Regions from separate parts of the Homo sapiens genome. Here all the other regions are linked to region 3. Evidence: promoter capture Hi-C in 16 types of primary human blood cells and fetal thymus (Javierre and others, 2016). All regions are on one chromosome and are shown on one strand. The core of a region is centred on a gene start or on the middle of the fragment in contact, and the rest is flanking DNA. Distances in the headings are between cores, read along the strand shown. Region 1 overlaps JAK2 (Janus kinase 2). Region 2 overlaps PLGRKT (plasminogen receptor with a C-terminal lysine). Region 3 holds the start of INSL6 (insulin like 6).

Evidence for each region. Contacts are between HindIII fragments. The CHiCAGO score rates a contact against its expected background, and 5 or more counts as called.
Region 1: a contact is called between a fragment that was not itself captured here and the fragment with the promoter of INSL6 in region 3, in 1 of 17 cell types (endothelial precursors). The highest score is 5.0, in endothelial precursors.
Region 2: a fragment that was not itself captured here is called in contact with the fragment with the promoter of INSL6 in region 3 in 1 of 17 cell types (non-activated CD4 T cells); the score reaches 5.2 in non-activated CD4 T cells.

What each region holds. Positions count from the first base shown.
Region 1 is chr9:4,988,117-4,990,931 of GRCh38, forward strand. All of the region lies in intron 2 of JAK2 (Janus kinase 2), which reads left to right. Among named protein-coding and RNA genes, the nearest start is that of JAK2, 4.3 kb to the left of the region's middle. The HindIII fragment of the contact is 718 bases long and covers 1,094-1,811 here.
Region 2 is chr9:5,377,039-5,379,891 of GRCh38, forward strand. All of the region lies in intron 3 of PLGRKT (plasminogen receptor with a C-terminal lysine), which reads right to left. Among named protein-coding and RNA genes, the nearest start is that of RLN1, 39 kb to the left of the region's middle. The HindIII fragment of the contact is 1,044 bases long and covers 787-1,830 here.
Region 3 is chr9:5,184,051-5,187,010 of GRCh38, forward strand. It overlaps INSL6 (insulin like 6), which reads right to left and starts at 1,589. Exons shown (of 2, transcript NM_007179.3): 1 at 1,264-1,589. The coding sequence starts at 1,552. The HindIII fragment of the contact is 2,408 bases long and covers 1-1,971 here.

The sequences.
Region 1 (2,815 bases), core at 203-2,702, 200 kb before region 3:
TAAGACCTTTCTTTTGCTCTTCTCCCATTACATTTCCCACCCTTCCCCACTCCCTTTTAGACCCCTCCTCTTAGCTCCCAGTTTCCCAAACTGTGTGCCAAGGTGCCCAGAGCACCTCAGGCTTGAACTTGTGTTTTGAGTTGGTTCATGGTTTCAATATTAGATACCTACACCCGTTTCTACAATGTCATGTCTTTGTAAAGATGTATTTTCAGAGGTTGCTCCGATAAAAAGCAACTACTACATGAAAATGAATGTAGAACAGGAAATGACAGTGTGGTATTGTCCAATTTGATTCTAAGGTTTGATAAGTTCTACAGTGCTCTACACTAAGTTGTAAGGACATAACTACTAAGTAAGTTGTTCAAACCTATTTCTTTTGGCCTGGGGGTGTCGTGAAAAATTTGCTAAGACTCAGAGCTCCCTGAATGGGTTTGGAAACCTCTGCCTTAGCTTTTAGTTTGCTTTTCTGATAAAATTATTGATATAAAGCTAGTACCAGCTGATCATGGCTTAATATATTTCCTCTCCTATGTAATATGTTTATAACTTCTGCCCAGTTCTTTCATTTTAAAACTAATCCTATTGCTAACTTGTTGTACTAGTCACTTCCTGGTTTTTCCTGTACTGGTCTTCTGCTTCTACTTCTGTTCATCTCCTTAAACTCCGAATGCCCCAAGTGAAAGTTACCATTTTCTACCCCTTAATTTTCTTCTAATCATGTAGGCTTTAAATTAGGCATCATCTTTAAACTACTTCTTTCATTTACCTCTTATTCCCATTCAAAATGTCCATATTTCCTTTCTTTCTCATATCTCTGCTTTCCCTCCTTTACTGTGTGAATCCCAGGACACATTTCCTGAGCCTAGAATATTGAAAGTCATTTGAACTTCTGAGAATTCAGTGTCCCTTCCTTCTGTTTATCCTCAATAGAGATTCCACTCTAATACTCCTTATTATAGCATTCCCTTGCCCCAAAACCTTCAGTGGCTTACCATTTTCTACTTATTAAATTTTCCTGACTTTTAAGATAGTCTATTATCAATCCCTGCCCTATTTATTTAGTCTTTTGTCTAAGGATCTCTAGTCCTTAAGCTTGTAAGCTGATTTCCACACTTTCTAATAATAAGCTATGCTTCTTCTATCCTTTAATTTTTGCCCATGTTCTCCATCCCTCTTTTTTTTCCTCTATTTCTGTAGCTCTTTAGTCTTAGAACATTTTCACATGGTTTAATTATATGCCATGCTTTAGTTGTTTGATAGTTATTTCCCTAGTGTTAGCCATATCTTTTCAAGTTGATTGTGTATTCTTTGAGGAGCAGTACCTTAGATTAAAAAAAAACCACAACACACAGTGGAGAGCACATGGGCAGCATTCAAGAAATACATGTTGATTGTGTGATAAGGAACTGTAGTCACCAAACAAATATTTGTTAATACTTGCAATGTAAAAGGTACTTGGCTGTATTCAAAAGAGAAATAAAGAAATATAAAATAGGCTCCTTTCCCTAAGGACTTACAGTATAATTGGGCAGATAAGCTAAATAATAAAAGTTACAGATATTTAAGACCACTTGAGTTGAGCAGAGATTTTGCATAATAGGAAGGAACTGGTAGAGGGGGTAAGCAAAGGCAAAATATGTATATATGTATGATATGTTCAGAGAGCAGTACATAAATAACTTGACTGAAATGAAGATTTGTGTGAAAGAGTAGTAAGAAATTGTGTTAAAAATGTAGTTGGAATTTGATTATGGATGTCTTTAAATGCTAGGATGAGAAGAATGTACTTTGACCTGTAGATATGGAGAAGCTTTAAAAGTTTTGAATTGAGAAAGAGTTTGCTGAAATAAGTATTTTAGGAAAATCAAAGCAGCACCAGTGCTAGGTCTCATATGAATTGGAAAGAGAATGGTAGAAAGAGGTAGGAAAATAATTGAGCCCTGAAGTAATGAGGACTTAGAAATAAGTCAGATTGCAGAGATGTCACAAGACATTATTATGGATTGGATAAGAAGGGAGAATGGAGGGGAGAAGAGTGATTAAAGATTACCTTACCTTGAAGGTTTGCTTTTCAGTGACGGAGGAAATCAAAGAGTGTTGACTCTCCAAGACATCTTAGAACATCTAAGTCTATATGTTTTGTATATTAGGACTCAGACCAGAGAGATTTAAAAATGTGTCCAAAGTTACTCAGCTAGTTAATGACAAAGAAACTGCCGTTTGATTAATGGCAGTTACTAACAAAAATAGTTATGGCAGTGTTAGTAGCTGGTAGAGGGGATGTAGACAGTTGAGCGTATATTGTGGATATGTTGAGTTTGCGGTGGCCGTGGGATGGGCAAGTGAAAATTGATAGCATACAGTGGGACATATGACTAGAATTTGTTAGCGAAGTTAAGGCTGGTGCTGTGGTACTTAAGAGAAAAGAGTGGGATTGCCCATAATTAGCGGGTGGGTGAAAGGAGAGGAATGGGTAAAGGAGACAAAGAAAAAAACAGTATGAGAGGCAAATTAGTGGATAGGTTAGGAGGCGGAATGATCAACATGTTGATCATTGGCAAGAAATGAGAAGAATCAGATCCAAAAAAAGGTCTTAAAAAGATGTATTCGTGTTTTTCCTAATAAGAAATCTATAAAAACAGAAGAAAATTGCTTATACTTTCCCTACGTGGAAATAACCACTGTTAATATTTTGTTCTCTCCGGTTTAACAAAAGACCTTTGGATTTGACAGTTGGGTGATCAGTGGAGACTTTTCCAAAGCTCTCCATCACTAGGACTAAGGATGAGAATTTTAGGCATAATAAAACCTA
Region 2 (2,853 bases), core at 59-2,558, 190 kb after region 3:
CAGGCTGCCTGGGAAGTTAGAGATCTGTTTCCCTGTCCAATTGCAGGGCAGTGGATAAGGAGGTAATGAAATACAACAAAATATCCTGCAACCGTTACAATGACTTTCCTACATTGTGAAGGCTAGCCACAGTGCTGGAAAGTGCTTAGACACACTGTCAAGTGCAAAAAGCATAATATAAAATTCTTTTAGAGAGGATAACAAGTAAACTAAAAAAAAAAAGATAGCACAGAGAAAAAAACTGAAATATTAAACAAGGCTGTTTTGAAATAATAGTACTATGGTAATCTTTTCTTCTTTCCATATAAATGTATTATATAATCTTTTATTTATTAGTTCACTCATTATACTAAAAAATACATTAAAAAGGAAAAATGTAAGCAGGGATTACTGGGTAGTGACATAAGAGACTATTCATTTTTTTCTCCTTTGTATTTATCTATATAAAAATAAGCTAACAATATTTTTTAAAAGAATATCTCCATAATGGTGCTGGAAAGCAAGAACATTTTCAGAAATGTTGAGAAATTTCTGAAAGAGAGAAAGCAGATGGGATCAAAATGATGGTAAAACCTGTAGGAGTTTCTGTAGAAGAAACTACAACCTAAAGCAGACTCTAGGGAGGACTATTCTGCCTATAAGAATGCCGGAGAAGCTCCAAGCTTGGAAATAATTTAATACCTACCCACGTAACAACAAATGGTGCCCCTCCATTCCAATACACACAGAGGTGGCAGTGTTTGTCCCCAGCCAAATTTTCTCCAAAGTGGCAAATCTCTTGGGGGAAGCTTTTATTCTAGGGGATGGGGTCTGAAAGAGAAGAGCTGATATCGAGGCAATTCTGCACTTCGACAGCAGACAAGAAAGAAAGAAAAAATAGAAGGCAGTACCACTGAGACCTGAAGTATGACACCATGCTTCGTCCCAGAGTAAACCTTTGTTCTCTGGCAATTGTGGGGTTCTTCAGCCTGCTTCTTGCTCATCCACCCTAAAGGGAAGCTCTTGTGTTGGCACATGTTGCACATTCCAAAAGGCCCACAGACTGCACAGAAAATCCATGCCAGCTCCTCAAGATAGTCAACCTGGTTCTTCATCATACATTTGAACAGGCAACCAAGGGCTACCAGACATTTGAGGGAAACCAACAGCGTAATAGATAAGGATAAAGGTGCATAAAGAGAACATCTGGAACGGGAGATAATAAAGGTAATGCAGAACAGAAGAAAAGAATGCAGCCCAAGCGATGAGAACCTTCCTTCCCTATTCCCAGATGTATCTCTGAAGGGAGACACATGCCCCTCATGTGCCAGCATGTTTTCTCTATCTGGCTTGCAGTTTTAGCTCCTGCTGAGGGAGTCCAACAGAAACTGTGATAACACCGCACACAATATGAATGAATCTCATAATCCTAATGTTGAACAAAAGAACCCAGACACAGAAAAGGATAAACCAGAAGTAAAAAGATCAAAATTAGACAAAAAACTAGCCCATGCTCTTGGAAGTCAGGATAGTGGCTATCCTTAAGTGGGGTTAGTGACTGCAAGGGGTTGGGATGCAGCTTAAGGAATATGTTCAGTCTGTGTAAATTAATTGAGTTGTACACTTTAACATTGATAAAAGGCATATATAATTAATGAAGAAGATAGAAGAGTTAAGAATTTTTTATAAATCAGACAAAACATTAAATGACATGAAGCAAAACTGTTGGGAATACAAAAAAAAATTACAAATTATAAATAATAATGGTAGGATTTAACCATCTCTTTCAGAAATATACAGGTTAAATTGGAAAAATGTAGTGATATTAAGGATTAAGCAATTAAATCAACAAGCTTAATATGTGTGTATCTGTATAGCCAATAAATATTTTTAAATTCTTTATAAATATTTAGGGAACATTGTATTATGCCACAATAAAACATCCCAATAAATTCATGAAAGTTGAAATCACATAGGCCATATTTTTTTAACCATAGTACAGTAAAAGTATAAATAAATACAACTAGATAATGATTGCCTAGCTTTAAAACTCAAGAAAATAAACTGAACAAACTATTAGAATCAACAAGATTCTAATCAGAATCAGCAGAATGGTTGAATATATAATCAACACACAAACATTACAGATTTTCTATATGCCAAAATCCATTAATAGTTATTCACAATATTGTAAATATAATACCCAGGAAGAAATACTAATCAAAATCTGATCAGAAATTACTTTAGTGAACTTTACAAGCTCATTGTAAGATTTCCTTGGAGAGGAAAATATACAAAAAAAGAAAACTTTGAAAATTGTCTTACCTGCCAGACATATAAAGTTACTACAGAGATGTGCTGTTCAACATGGTAGCCACTAGCCATACTGAATATTTACATTAAGATTAATTAAAATTAACAATTTAGTTTCTCAGAGGCACTAGTCACATTTCCAGTGTTCAACAGCCACATGTGAGTGGATATGTGTGTGTGTGTGTGTACACAAATACATAAATATAAACTGATACTTTCAGCCTATCATATTTATATATATGATTTAACAAATAATAGTAAAGAAAATCTACAAGCCAATAAAGTTAACCCAATAGAAAAAGGGCATTTCACTGAAGAATAAATACAAATAAAAAATACATTATGAAAAATGTTGAACTTCATTTGTAGTAGAAAAATAAAATTTAAACAACAAACATCTCATTTTTGAGTCTCATATAGATAAAAATTGATACTATCCTTTGTTGGTGAGAGTGCACTCATGCACTATTTTTGGGAAAGCAGAAGAGTACAGTAGTTTTAAGGACAATTTGACAGTATCTGTGTGATAGAAAATCTTCATGCTTTTCTCCCCAATAATTT
Region 3 (2,960 bases), core at 339-2,838:
TTGATGGGTCGGTTTGAAAATGATCATGAATCAGTCTCATGGTTTCTGTCTTTAAAAGTTTTTATTCTTTCAGCAACAGTGACTTTATAAATTCTATTCATTCATTCCAAAAAAGCTAATGAGTGCCTACAATGTGCATTGTTTGACTTTTTTCAGTCCTCTACATTAGGGTCTCTTTTTGGCATGATAGTTTACTCATTTCCTTAATTTCAGAAATCTTCACTTTTACAAGATTTGTCCAAATCAAATCAACTGAATTACTGTAAAAGGCAGTAATCTTCTTCCTATGGATACACTATAAACAAAGTGCAATTTCTTTTAAAATGACAAATCATACTGGGACTAAAATGTCTTAGTCACAAAATGTAAAAACATAGTAAGATATACCAATGAATCTGGAACAAGAATATCCTTCCTGCAGACTGCTTGAAAGCATCAAGTATAAATTCAGCGCATATTAAACACATGCGATGTGCTAGGCCATCTGCTAAGCATTTCAGACAAAAATATGCATGAAATAGTCCCTATAATACAGTATGGTATATAGGGCTGACTTTATGGGACTGAAACCTATGTAGTCACACAGGCCTTGCATTTGGTTTAAATGTTCCTTTGTTGTTCTGAATAAATTTACCTTTGAAACTTTAAGTGAATGAAATACAAGTACGTAAACTCTTAAATGAAGCCTGATAGGAGAACGGACCAGGCCTATCTCCTGGTACGTGACCAGGGGATATGGACAAGTAAGGAAAACAGTTTTATATTTTACTACCTTTATTTTCATGGCCCTTTCCTGCTTTTTTGAACAAGGTACTCTGCATTTTTATCTTCTACAAGGTTGGGCTGATTCTGTAGCCAATGACGACAGTCAAATACAACTATGTGCTAGATACTGTGGTAGAAAGGACAATGGAGCCATTGGCCATGAAAAGGTCAATGATGACTTCACAGGGAAAATGATACTTAAGTTGGGCTTTGAAGGACAAAAAGGAGTTTGCCAGATGACTGGCACTCCAGAAAAGAACAACATTCTTACATAAATATGTAGACTTACAAGTGTACATTTATTTCCTCCAAGTTAAAAAAAAAAGCGCTTCATTGAAGTTTTGTATATTTTCAATACACTGTTTTTTACAATTTTTTAAAGAGCTGTGTACTAGGCACAAATTCCACTTCCTGGGGAAGCTCACCTTCTGGCAGAGCAAATGCAGGAATAAGAAATATACAGAGGTGAACAAACATGCCTTCGGTTTCGATTTTTACCTGGGTTTGTGCCTCTTCCCCGGGCCGGGGAAGCGGTTTGCGGGCTTTCGAACTGGTATGGGCTGTAGGCTTCGACCTTCTCCGAGGCCTGTGCAATCAACCGTGAGAAAGGGGTTTCCTCCTCGAAACGGAACTGGCTCCAGTTGGCATGGCCGCAGAGTTTTTCTATTTCTTTCACCAAGTACCTGCCGCACAGCTTCCTGGCACTGCTGATGTCGCTCAGTTCACGAGAAAACCGAACCAGCAGGAGTCCAAGCCACAGCAGGGACAAGCGGAGGAGCCGCGGCATCCCTGTGACCCCAGGCTAGTCCTCCGCGTTGTGCAATGGCGGTCGGCCGGACCCTGCTCCCTGTCTGCGCCTGCGCCAGGCCGAGCGGCGCGCACAAACACTGCGGAATTCCGAGCGCGTGGGGGCGTCGCCAGAACTTCAAGGGAAGGCGCGCGCCGGCTGCGTCAAGGCTTTCCCGCCAGCTCAGGGGTCTCAGGTGGTCGAAGGTAGCAGGCCCTGGCTCCTAAAATGAAAGCCAAAAATCCCCTCACTACCCCGCCACCCCCTAGTTTGATTCATTTTTCTTTCCTTCCTCAATGGGAGATTCCTCACCAAGCGTGAGAACATAGGATCCCTGTTACCTGATAACGTAGGTTAAAAAGTGTTGCTCCCTCCACCTGGAATGCGTTTCTCGTTCTTGTTTGCCAGGTTGTTAATAAAGCTTCGTCTCCCTCACAGAAACCCCCTGTCATCTCTTTCACGGTGTTAATCGACCTGTTTCCATTTGTGGGCGTGTAACCTCTTTCCTGAGACCCCCGCTTCATGAAGGCAAGGGCCTGCGTCTGTTCTTGCTTTCCATCGTACCCCGGGATCTGGCATTTAGCTGGCAATCAAATATGTGGTGAAACGTTTAAGTGTTGCATATGGCCATGTGCGTTTAGTCAGGTTCAAAGCTTCTTCAGAAAAATCCTACTGGTTCACAGGGAGGCATGGGCCTTAGCCTCAATCTCCAGAAAAAAGAAGTAGGGACGCTGTCTTGAGGTACCTGGGATGGAAATCTGGTTCTTTCGGTTAGATAATGTAGAGGATTGTGTATTACCAAATTAACTTGTGACAGGGACCCCTAGAGGATTTGCCTTGTAAGAATAACAGCATGCAGCATGAAATGCTCATTTAGGTGAGATAATTTTGCTCAGTTAGGAGGGAAGGGGCAGGGAAGCGAAGCGCAATCGGCATAGGTAGCTTTATCATTTTAAATGAAGTTCTGTGTTACTAGTGTGTTGGCGTGGAAGGATGTACTATCGGCCACAAGAGGGCATTCGGTGGCTGTCTCAGGAATAAGGTTCAGGATGCTGAAGCCACAGGTGCAAGCTTATCAGTGATCTCACCATTTCCCTATACAATTTTATTTTTTTCTCCCTTTCTTTTCTGTCTTCTGACTCTATGTCTTTTTCTTAATTTTCCGTTTCCCTATCTTTTCCCTGCTTCCCAGTGGCATCCATGAATGCTGTTAAATTAACTGCCAATTGGATTTTTTAAATGGTTGATATAATATAGATTAGTAAAATTTAATCACCTTCCTTAAAAAATAACTTATGTCCAAACTATAGTGGGCCATGAGTCCTAGTCAGAACTTTATCAGGTAAGGTTTTTGAGAACGGAAAATATTAATCATACTGAGATGAATGTAAGCCTTGTGGTAACCACA